2 separate regions of the Homo sapiens genome follow, and region 2 is linked to region 1. Evidence: promoter capture Hi-C in human tissues and cell types (Jung and others, 2019). All regions are on one chromosome and are shown on one strand. Each heading gives the region's core, a stretch centred on a gene start or on the middle of the fragment in contact. The rest is flanking DNA. Distances are from core to core; before and after follow the strand shown.

Evidence for each region. The method cuts DNA at HindIII sites, captures the fragments that hold promoters and counts their contacts. A contact is called where the count stands out against the background at its distance.
Region 2: a contact is called between a fragment that was not itself captured here and the fragment with the promoter of TRAF4 in region 1, in 1 of the 25 tissues and cell types used here (mesendoderm cells).

What each region holds. Positions count from the first base shown.
Region 1 is chr17:28,742,601-28,747,122 of GRCh38, reverse strand. It overlaps TRAF4 (TNF receptor associated factor 4), which reads right to left and starts at 3,112. Exons shown (of 7, transcript NM_004295.4): 1 at 2,868-3,112. The coding sequence starts at 3,010. It overlaps NEK8 (NIMA related kinase 8), which reads right to left. Exons shown (of 15, transcript NM_178170.3): 15 at 3,668-4,522. RefSeq lists enhancers at 1-32, 3,718-4,012, 3,036-4,036 and silencers at 2,634-2,833, 2,854-3,263, 3,718-4,012. The HindIII fragment of the contact is 18,595 bases long and covers 1-4,522 here.
Region 2 is chr17:28,870,622-28,874,683 of GRCh38, reverse strand. No RefSeq gene overlaps it. Among named protein-coding and RNA genes, the nearest start is that of MIR4732, 11 kb to the right of the region's middle. RefSeq lists an enhancer at 3,048-3,117. The HindIII fragment of the contact is 4,288 bases long and covers 1-3,469 here.

The DNA.
Region 1 (4,522 bases), core at 1,863-4,362:
CACCAGACCGGTTCCCAACCAGCCTAGATGAGACAAAAGGGCAAGCAGAGGCCTGAGGGGCTCTACTTCCCCAGGATCCCAGAAGACCCCAGCCCCTGTCCTGGGAAGGGGGGTCTGGGCCTAGAGGAGGCACAGACAGCTGCCTCAGTCAGGACTTGGCCAACAGGTGGCAGCTGGCACCCCCTCCCCCAGGATGGCAGCTGGACTGGGAAAGGAACACGCTGCACAGTCACCCCCTCCCCCTAGGTTAGTTTTCATTGGCTGCGCTGAAAGCTGACTGGGAGGGGGAACAGGGATGGGCTGAGATTAAGTGCGAAGGCTGCCCAGTCCCCAGGAAGGTCCTCTGCCAAGAACCAGGGCAAAGGTCAGCTTGCGGCCACCTTACCCTGCCCTGCTCCTTTGAGGGTGTGTCTCCCACAGAAAAGGGGAGGAAAGGCATGCTCCTTGGCACCTGTTTACATTCCCACCCGGCCCTTGCCACCTGCCTCTGAGAAGGGGTGGAATGCCCCCATTTTACAGATGAAACGAAGAGGCTTACAGGTGAAGCAGCACCTGGCTATGTGTGTCTGACTCCACAGCTCAGACAGGCTCTACTACACCACACACACAAGGAAGAGAAGCTGGGGCAAGGAAAAATGTCCAGCAAGCACAGCTAAGACTCTGGGCACTGCTCAGTGGGCTTCTGAAGCCTGGTGACCGTCCCCTCCTGCTAGCTGCCCGCCTTCTCCTGCACCAAACCCTACCTGGCCGTCAGCACCCAAGGAGCCTGTTGGCATGCTTCTTTCTGTCGACATGCCCTTGCTGACCCCAGCCAGGGCCAGTCACACATGCCTGGCATGGCTCAGGCAGAGCAATGGCTCACCCAGCAGGACTCAGGGCCCTGGGGCAGGGCATTCCTGGCAGGTCTGAGTCAGGTAGGTGGAAGGCAGGCAGGGATCCAGGCGGAACCAGAGCCCACATGGGAGCCCAGTTCTAGAGGCACTCTCCAGGACCCAGGCAGTCCATGCCCCAACTGCCCCAAGGATTTCTAGCACCCACCTCCTCCCCTTGATCCCACTACCACTGGCCATGCTTCAATGCCAAGGACAATACAACCACAGGCACTGAAGGGGTGTGTCTGCCCACAGGGCAACCAGCCTTCCTGGGCCAACCTAACAGCTCAGGCAGGAGTGGGGAAAGAGGGGTGGGCCCAGGGGGAGGGGGTCCACTTGGCTGCTTCAGGAATGTGCTGACTGAGTGGTTTTGGAGAAAGGGAGGGGACAGAGGCAAGTCCCTAGGCTTCAGGCAGAAGCTTAGCCTGCAGCTTGGGGCCCAGCCAGGGCTGTGGACACCCTCACTTGTGCTTGTACCGTGGCGGGTGAGGAGCAGGGACCACCCAACCACCTCTCTCCCCTTCAGAAGCCTCAGCAGCACAGCTCAGGCACTGGGGGATGGGGGACAGGCAGGGCAGAGGCTGCTCCAGGCTGTGCAGTGGAGGCCAAGGCCCAGGGAAGAAGACAGGATGGGGGGAGGGGGTGTGGGAGTGGGAGAGGAAGAGGGGATTTCCGGGAGGGGGAGTGGCAGAGAGGGGGGCCAAGAAGGTGGTGGAAGGAATCCGGCCTGACGGCCCCCTCCCCCGCTCCTTTCCCGAGGCAGTCAGGGTGGGTCAGCTGTGGGGGGGTCGGGGGGCTCAGCTGGCCTCATCTGGAACCCAGAGGGCCGGGGAAGAGCAGTGGCGGAGACAATGGGGCTGTGTCTGTAGGAGAGTAAATGTGTACACTGCCGAGGGGGAGGGGGCAGTCCTGCAGCTTGTGCCGGAGCATATGTGAGGGCAGGAGCCGGCCCAGGCTGTGGGGAACAGAAAACAAAGGGCCTGCTGAGATTTCCGCCAGTAGGAGCTACGGAGGACCGAGCGAGGGAGGGAGGCACGGCGGGAGGGAGCACCGGAGGCAGGCGTCTCAGAGGTACTATCCCTGCCAGGCCCTCGATCCCCTCGTCCCAGCAAACAGCCAGGCAGTGGCCGACTCGGCCTTCCCCTGCGCTCTGGGGGCATGACCTCCGAAGAGTCGGGGCTCCTTCACCCTGCTTCCCACACCCGGGCCTGAGGGGTTCCCTGCGTGAGCAGGAGATTCAAGACATACAGGGCGCCCAGAAACTTGATGGATGCCCAAGAGCCAAGGGCTAACCTGCGTCCTGAGAGGGCAGCGGGAGTTCAGTAACAACACGAGTGCGACCCCCTTCTTCATGACTTATGGACCACCCGCCTTACTCCAGCCCCCGGGAGAGAGGGGAGCCGCCTAGAGGGGTCCTTCTTCGGGGGAGGATTCAGTCCTTCCTCCATTGTGTGATCATAAGCAGTCCGGGTTTAAATCCTAGTTAAGCCTTTAAGTAACTATGTGACCCTGGGCAAGTCGCAGCCTTTCTTTGAATCTCGTTTCATGATCTGTGAAATGGGAGAACAATAGCTACCGTTCTCTGAACGTTCGAAGAATCAGAAGAGGTTAGATGGGGGAAAGCTCCGGAGGCTCAAACTGCCACGCGGGAGCGGGTTTTGTCCTCTTCCCCCAGGATTCAAAGTTCAAGGCTGAGGCCGCGCCGGCTCTCAGGTGACGGGGAAGGGCCTCTTCCCCTCCTGACCCCACGAGAAGGCGCCGAGGTCTTCCGCCCCGGGCCGGGCAGTTGGGACCCGCCCGGACCCCTCGGATTCCTGCGGGGGGGGCCTCCCTCGGGGCTTGACGTCATCCCTCCCCGTGACGTCACGGGGCGCCCCTGAGGTCACAGGGTCGCAGCGCAGACAAAGGCCCGCCTTGCCCCGGGCCCGAGACCCTCCCCAGGCGGCGCCCCCCGCCCCGCCCCGCCCCCGCTGTCCCCTGCTCCCCGGCCAGCACCTGAGGAACTCCTGCAGGCAGGTATCGCAGAAACGGTGGCCGCAGGTGGAAACCTGCACAGGCTCGCGCATGGGCTTCCCGCACAGTGGGCACAGCAGCCGTCGCTTGGGCTTCTCCAGGAACTTGTAGTCGAAGCCAGGCATGGCGGGCGAGCGGCCGGCACGGGCGAGCGGGGCCAGGCACGCGGCGGCCCCACAGCCCGCGCCTCGCTGGAGCGGCGCTCCCGGCTCCGGGCGGCGCCGACTGGCGGTCGCGGCCAGGGCTCGGCTGTGAAGCCCGCCCTCCGGAAGAGAGGGCGGACCGCGGCCGCGCGGTCCTAATGCGCGCCCTCGCGGCCCCGCCCACCCCCGAGTGCATGGTTTTTGGGTCTGGTGACCGCCAGTCTCGCCCACCCACGGGATCATGGGCTTTTCTTTCCCCTGGGGGACAGAGATCGTGGCTCCGCTTCTCCCCAGAGCCCGCGGGCCCCGGGGAAGTGCGGGTCGGAAAAGGGGACGGGCCGCGCCACAAAGGTTTTCTTCTCCAGAGGCAACAGCTCGGCCTCCGGGGCCGTGAGCAGCCCAGGAACCGTGGCCCCAGCTTCCAGGTGCTAGGCAGCCGAAGCCTGGCAACCAGCTCCGGGGAGCCCAGCTGGGGCGGGGAGGCTGGACTGGGCGCTGGGCCAGAGGAACCTCGGCCCCAGCCTCCGGCTGCGCCCACATTCCTCCCTTGGCCGCAGCCCTGCCACCGAGGTCGGGCCCAGCCCAGTCCTGGGGTGCCTGGTCGCCACCCCCACCCTTGAAGACACCACACTCCAGGCAGGCAGCTGATATTTTTATTGGCCTTCCTGTCCTCTGGGAAACCGGTCTGGTCCCACCAGCTACCCATTCTCTCAACTGTTTCTGGGGAAAGGCATGGGGGGGACGGGCAATCTCCAGCGCGGATCTTTTCTGCAGCACTTAGTGACTCCTGCCCTCCTGCTGGGGAAGAGAGGCAAGCCGACGTCTAGCAAATCCTGCCTCAGGATGAAAGTGTAGGGGAGGTGGCAGCACTCCCGGGGACCGCCCAGCCCCGGGCTATGCAGAAGCTAGGCAGGCCTAATGGCCAGTCCAGGCAGGCCCTGGCTTGCCCTGCTCCAAAGTATGGAGATAGAGTCCCGGTAAGCACCAAATACTTTTTTTTTTTTTTTTTTTTTTTTTTTTTTGAGAGGGAGACTTGCTCTGTCATCCAGGCTGGAGTGCAGTGGTGCGATCTCGGCTCACTGCAAACTTCACCTCCCGGGTTCAAGGGATTCTCTTGCCTTAGCCTCCAGAGTAGCTGGGATTACAGGCGCCCGTCACCATGCCTGGTTAATTTTTGTATTTTTAGTAGAGACGGGGTTTCACCATGTTGGCCAGGCTGGCCTCAGTCTACTGACCTCAAGTGATCCGCCCGCCTTGGCCTCCCAAAGTGCTGGAATTACAGGCGTGAGCCACCGCACCCAGCCTTATTTTCTTCTTTTTTTTTTTTTTTGGTGGAGACAGCGGTCTCGCTATGGTCCCCAGGCTGGTCTCCCAACTCCTGGCCACAAGGGATCAAGGGATCCTCCTGGCCAAAGCACTGCCTATGCAGGTGTGAGCCACCGCCGCCGGCCCAGACTTATTTTCTAACTGGGCTAGGGGAAAGGGTAGGGTCTG
Region 2 (4,062 bases), core at 76-2,575, 130 kb before region 1:
CAAGACCACGAACCCACCGGGAGGAATGAACAACTCCGGACGGGAGGAACCAATAACTCCAGACGTGCCGCCCTAAGAGCTGTAACACTTACTGCGAAGGTCTGCAGCTTCACTCTTGAAGCCAGCCAGACCATGAACCCACCAGAAGGAAGAAACTCCGAACACGTCCAAACATCAGAAGGAACAAACTCCGGACACACCATCTTTAAGAACTGTAACACTCACTGCGAGGGTCTGCAGCTTCATTCTTGAAGTCAATGAGACCAAGAACCCACCAATTCTGGACACACCATGTTCATGCCACTGCATTTTGCCCTGGGTGACTGCATTTTGCCCTGGGTGACAGAGCAAGACCCTGTCTCAAAAAACAAAACAAAAAAAATTGTGATTAATACATAGAAAATAGGGAATTGAGTGGTTGCTTTTAAATTGGAAGTATAACTTACATAGCGAAAGGGGTACAAATCTTGTGAATTTTACATATAATAAAATTTCATAAATGCATATACCTTTCTAACCAGCGTGAAGATCAAAATCTGGAACATGTCCAAAAAAAGAAAATAAATTGCCTCCAAGATCTTCGTCCCATCTGGAAGAACGGAAGAACGGAGTTGTTATTTACTGAAATGGGAAAAACATTTGAGGGAGCAGACTTTTTTTTTTTCAAGATAGAGAGATAGTCTCTCTCTGTCGCCTAGGCTGGAATGCAGTGGCACCATCACGACTTACTGCAGCTTTGACTTCCCTAAGCTCAAGTGAACCTCCTACCTCAGCCTCCTGAGTAGCTGGGACTACAGACATGCACCACCATACCTGGCTAATTTTTGTTTGTTTGTTTGTTTTTTGAGATGGAGTCCCGCTCTGCTGGGCTGGAGTGCAGTGGCACTATCTCGGCTCACTGCAACCTCCACCTCCCAGGTTCAAGCGATTCTTCTGCCTCAGCCTCCCAAGTAGCTGAGACTACAATTGCATACCACCGCCTGGCTAATTTTTGTATTTTTAGTAGAGATGGGGTTTCACCATGTTGCCCAGGCTGGTCTCGAACTCCTGAGGCTCAAGCAATCCACCTGCCTCAGCCTCCCAAAGTGCTGGGATTACAGGCATGAGCCACCATGCCTGGCCCACTACTGGTCTTTTCACTGCTTCCTGTTGACCTTCAGGAAAAGGAGGCCTGAGTGGCTGCAATGAGACCCAACTAGGAGATGGTCCAGGTTGGCCTTAGTGTCAGGGACACTGACTTCAGCAAGAAGATGAGAGGGGCCTTGCTGAAAGAGATCTGAAGGGTGCTGGAGAGGAGGAAGGGGCAATGATGTGGGGGTAGGGAGTGAGGAGGGGATGCCTCAGCACCTGTACTAATGCCAGTGGACCCCTGGAATGGAGAAAGCCAGGCCTCTGTCCCCAGAGCCTGGAACCAGCCTCAGGAAGAGAGAGTGGAGAGTATAGAGCATTCTGCCTGAGCCTTCAGAGGCCTGCTAAGGCCCTGTTTACCATGAACTTCCATGAACCCAGGAAGGAAAGGGCTTAGTATATAGAATGGGCACCTGGAGTGTGCAGGTGATGCTGTTTCCTACCCTGTTGTGCTCATGACCCCACCAGCCTTAGGAATTCGATATAGAGGGTACCAGGCCTGCCCATCTTCCCTGCTGTGCCCAGTCCCTAGGCCTGAAGGCCCAGCACAGAGGGGGTTAAGGGCTCAGGAACGCTTGCCTCTGGGTGGGTGGGAACTGTCAGCAAGGAGCCTTGTCTGTCTTGATAATCCAGGCTGCCTATCTTTTCCACAGCAGCTGTGAAGCAAACAGGTTGTCCTGGCAGGGAGGGAGGAATGTAAAGGCCTGGCTGATGGCGGGAAGGATTTGAGGCAGTAGGGACACTCAGGCTCCACTCAACAGCCACCTTTAGAACTGTACCTGGCTGGGCGCAGTGGCTCACGCCTGTAATCCCAGCACTTTGGGAGGCCGAGGCAGGCGGATCACGAGGTCAGGAGATCAAGACCATCCTGGCTAACACGGTGAAACCCCATCTCTACTAAAAATACAAAAATTAGCCGGGCGTGGTGTCGGGCACCTGTAGTTCCAGCTACTCGGGAGGCTGAGGCAGGAGAATGGTGTGAACCTGGGAAGTGGAGCTTGCAGTGAGCCGAGATCACACCACTACACTCCAGCCTGGGGGACAAAGCCAGACTCCGTCTCAAAAAAAAAAAAAAAAGAAAGAAAAAAAAAAGAAAGAACTGTACCAGGAGACTGGAAAGGTCATGGCCCAAGTCTGGACTTGAGAGTCCCCACTGACCCAGAGAATAGGAACTGGAAGCTGATGAATAGAGTTAGGGAGGTGTTGAGAGGAAAATTTCCATTTCTGACTCAGTATGTGTCTCAACAGGGGTGCAAGGGGGACACTATCACGTGTACGTGCACGGGTATGAGTGAGCACGAGCGCCCACAGGTGTATGCCCCGTTGGAGAGAGTAAACAGGGAAAGCCCACTGCAAAGCCAGGAAGGAAGGAGCTTGGCATCTGTTGAGCTCCTGTTGTTCATGTGCCAGGCTCTAGGTTAGAACTATCCACCTTCACTGTCTCATTTCATCTTCACCAGCATGGAAAAGAAAGCATTTGAACCCCTTTTTTTTGAGACAGAATCTTGCTCTGTCGCCCAGGCTGGAGTGCAGTGGCACGATCTCGGCTCACTGCAACCTCCGCCTCCCCGGTTTCAAGCAATTCTCCTGCCTCAGCCTCCTCAGTAGCTGGGATTACAGGCCTGTGCCAACAAGCCCAGCTAATTTTTGTATTTTTAGTAGAGATGGAGTTTCACCATGTTGGTCAGGCTGGTCTCGAACTCCTGACCTCGTGATCTGCCCGCCTCAAGCTCCCAAAGTGCTGGGATTATAGGTGTGAACCACCGCGCTCGGCCTTTTTTTTTTTTTTTTTTGAAACAGAGTCTCACTCTGTCACCCAGCCTGGAGTGTAATGGCACTATCTCGGCTCACTGCAACTTCTGCCTCCTAGGTTCAAGAGATTCTCCTCCCTCAGCCTCTCGAGTAGCTGGGATTACAGGCGCCTACCACCACGCGTGGCTAATTTTTGTATTTTTAGTAGAGACAGGGTTTCGCCATGTCGTCCAGGCTGGTCTCAAACTCCTGACCTCAAGGGATCCGCCCACCACGGCCTTCAAACTGCTGGGATTACAGGCATGAGCCACTGAACCTGGCCTGAACCCCATTTTACTGTTGAGGAAGCCAAGACTCTAAGATCAGGTGCAGGGGCCAGAATCACTCAGCGGTAGTGTGGTGGAGCCCGGACTCTGACAAGTCAGTCAGAAGCTGTGCTTATTTCCTGCTAGCTCTCAGTACTCCTAGACAGGAAGCAAGAACCCTAATGTACAACCCCTGAACTGTGAAGGCGAAAGCTCTGGTTCAAGCCAAACATGGGCCTGTGATTTCAGGACAAGTGAGCTTCATGAGAAGGCTTGGCTCATAAACTGCAGGAGGTCAGAGAAAGGAGAGGGGATTGTTGCTGGATTGCAGCTGCCCAAGAGCAGTGTGTGGAAGAGGCTAAACAAGGGATTAGATGACTAGGCATGGTGGCTCATGCCTGTAATCCCAGAACTTTTAAGGGCTGAGGTGGGAGGTTTGCTTGAGGCCAGGAGTTTGAGATCAGGCTGGGTTGCACAGTGAGAACCCCCATCTCTATTTTTTTTTTTTGGTCACTGTTGTCAGCCTGGGTTGGAGTGCAGTGGCGTGATCTCGGCTCACTGCAACCTCCGCCTCCCAGGTTCCAGCAATTCTCCTGTCTCAGCCTCCCGAGTAGCTGAGATTACAGGCGCCTGCCACCATGCCCAGCTAATTTTTCTATTTTTGGTAGAGACACGGTTTCACCACGTTGGCCAAGCTGGTCTTGAACTCCTGACCTCAAGTGATTTGCCTGCTTCGGCCTCCCAAAGTGCTAGGATTATAGGCGTATGCCACTGTGCCTGGCCTCTATCTCTATTTAAAAAAAAAAATTTTTTTTTCTGAGATGGAGTTTTGCTCTCGTTGCCCAGGCTAGAGTGCAGTGGTCCAGCCTTGGCTCAC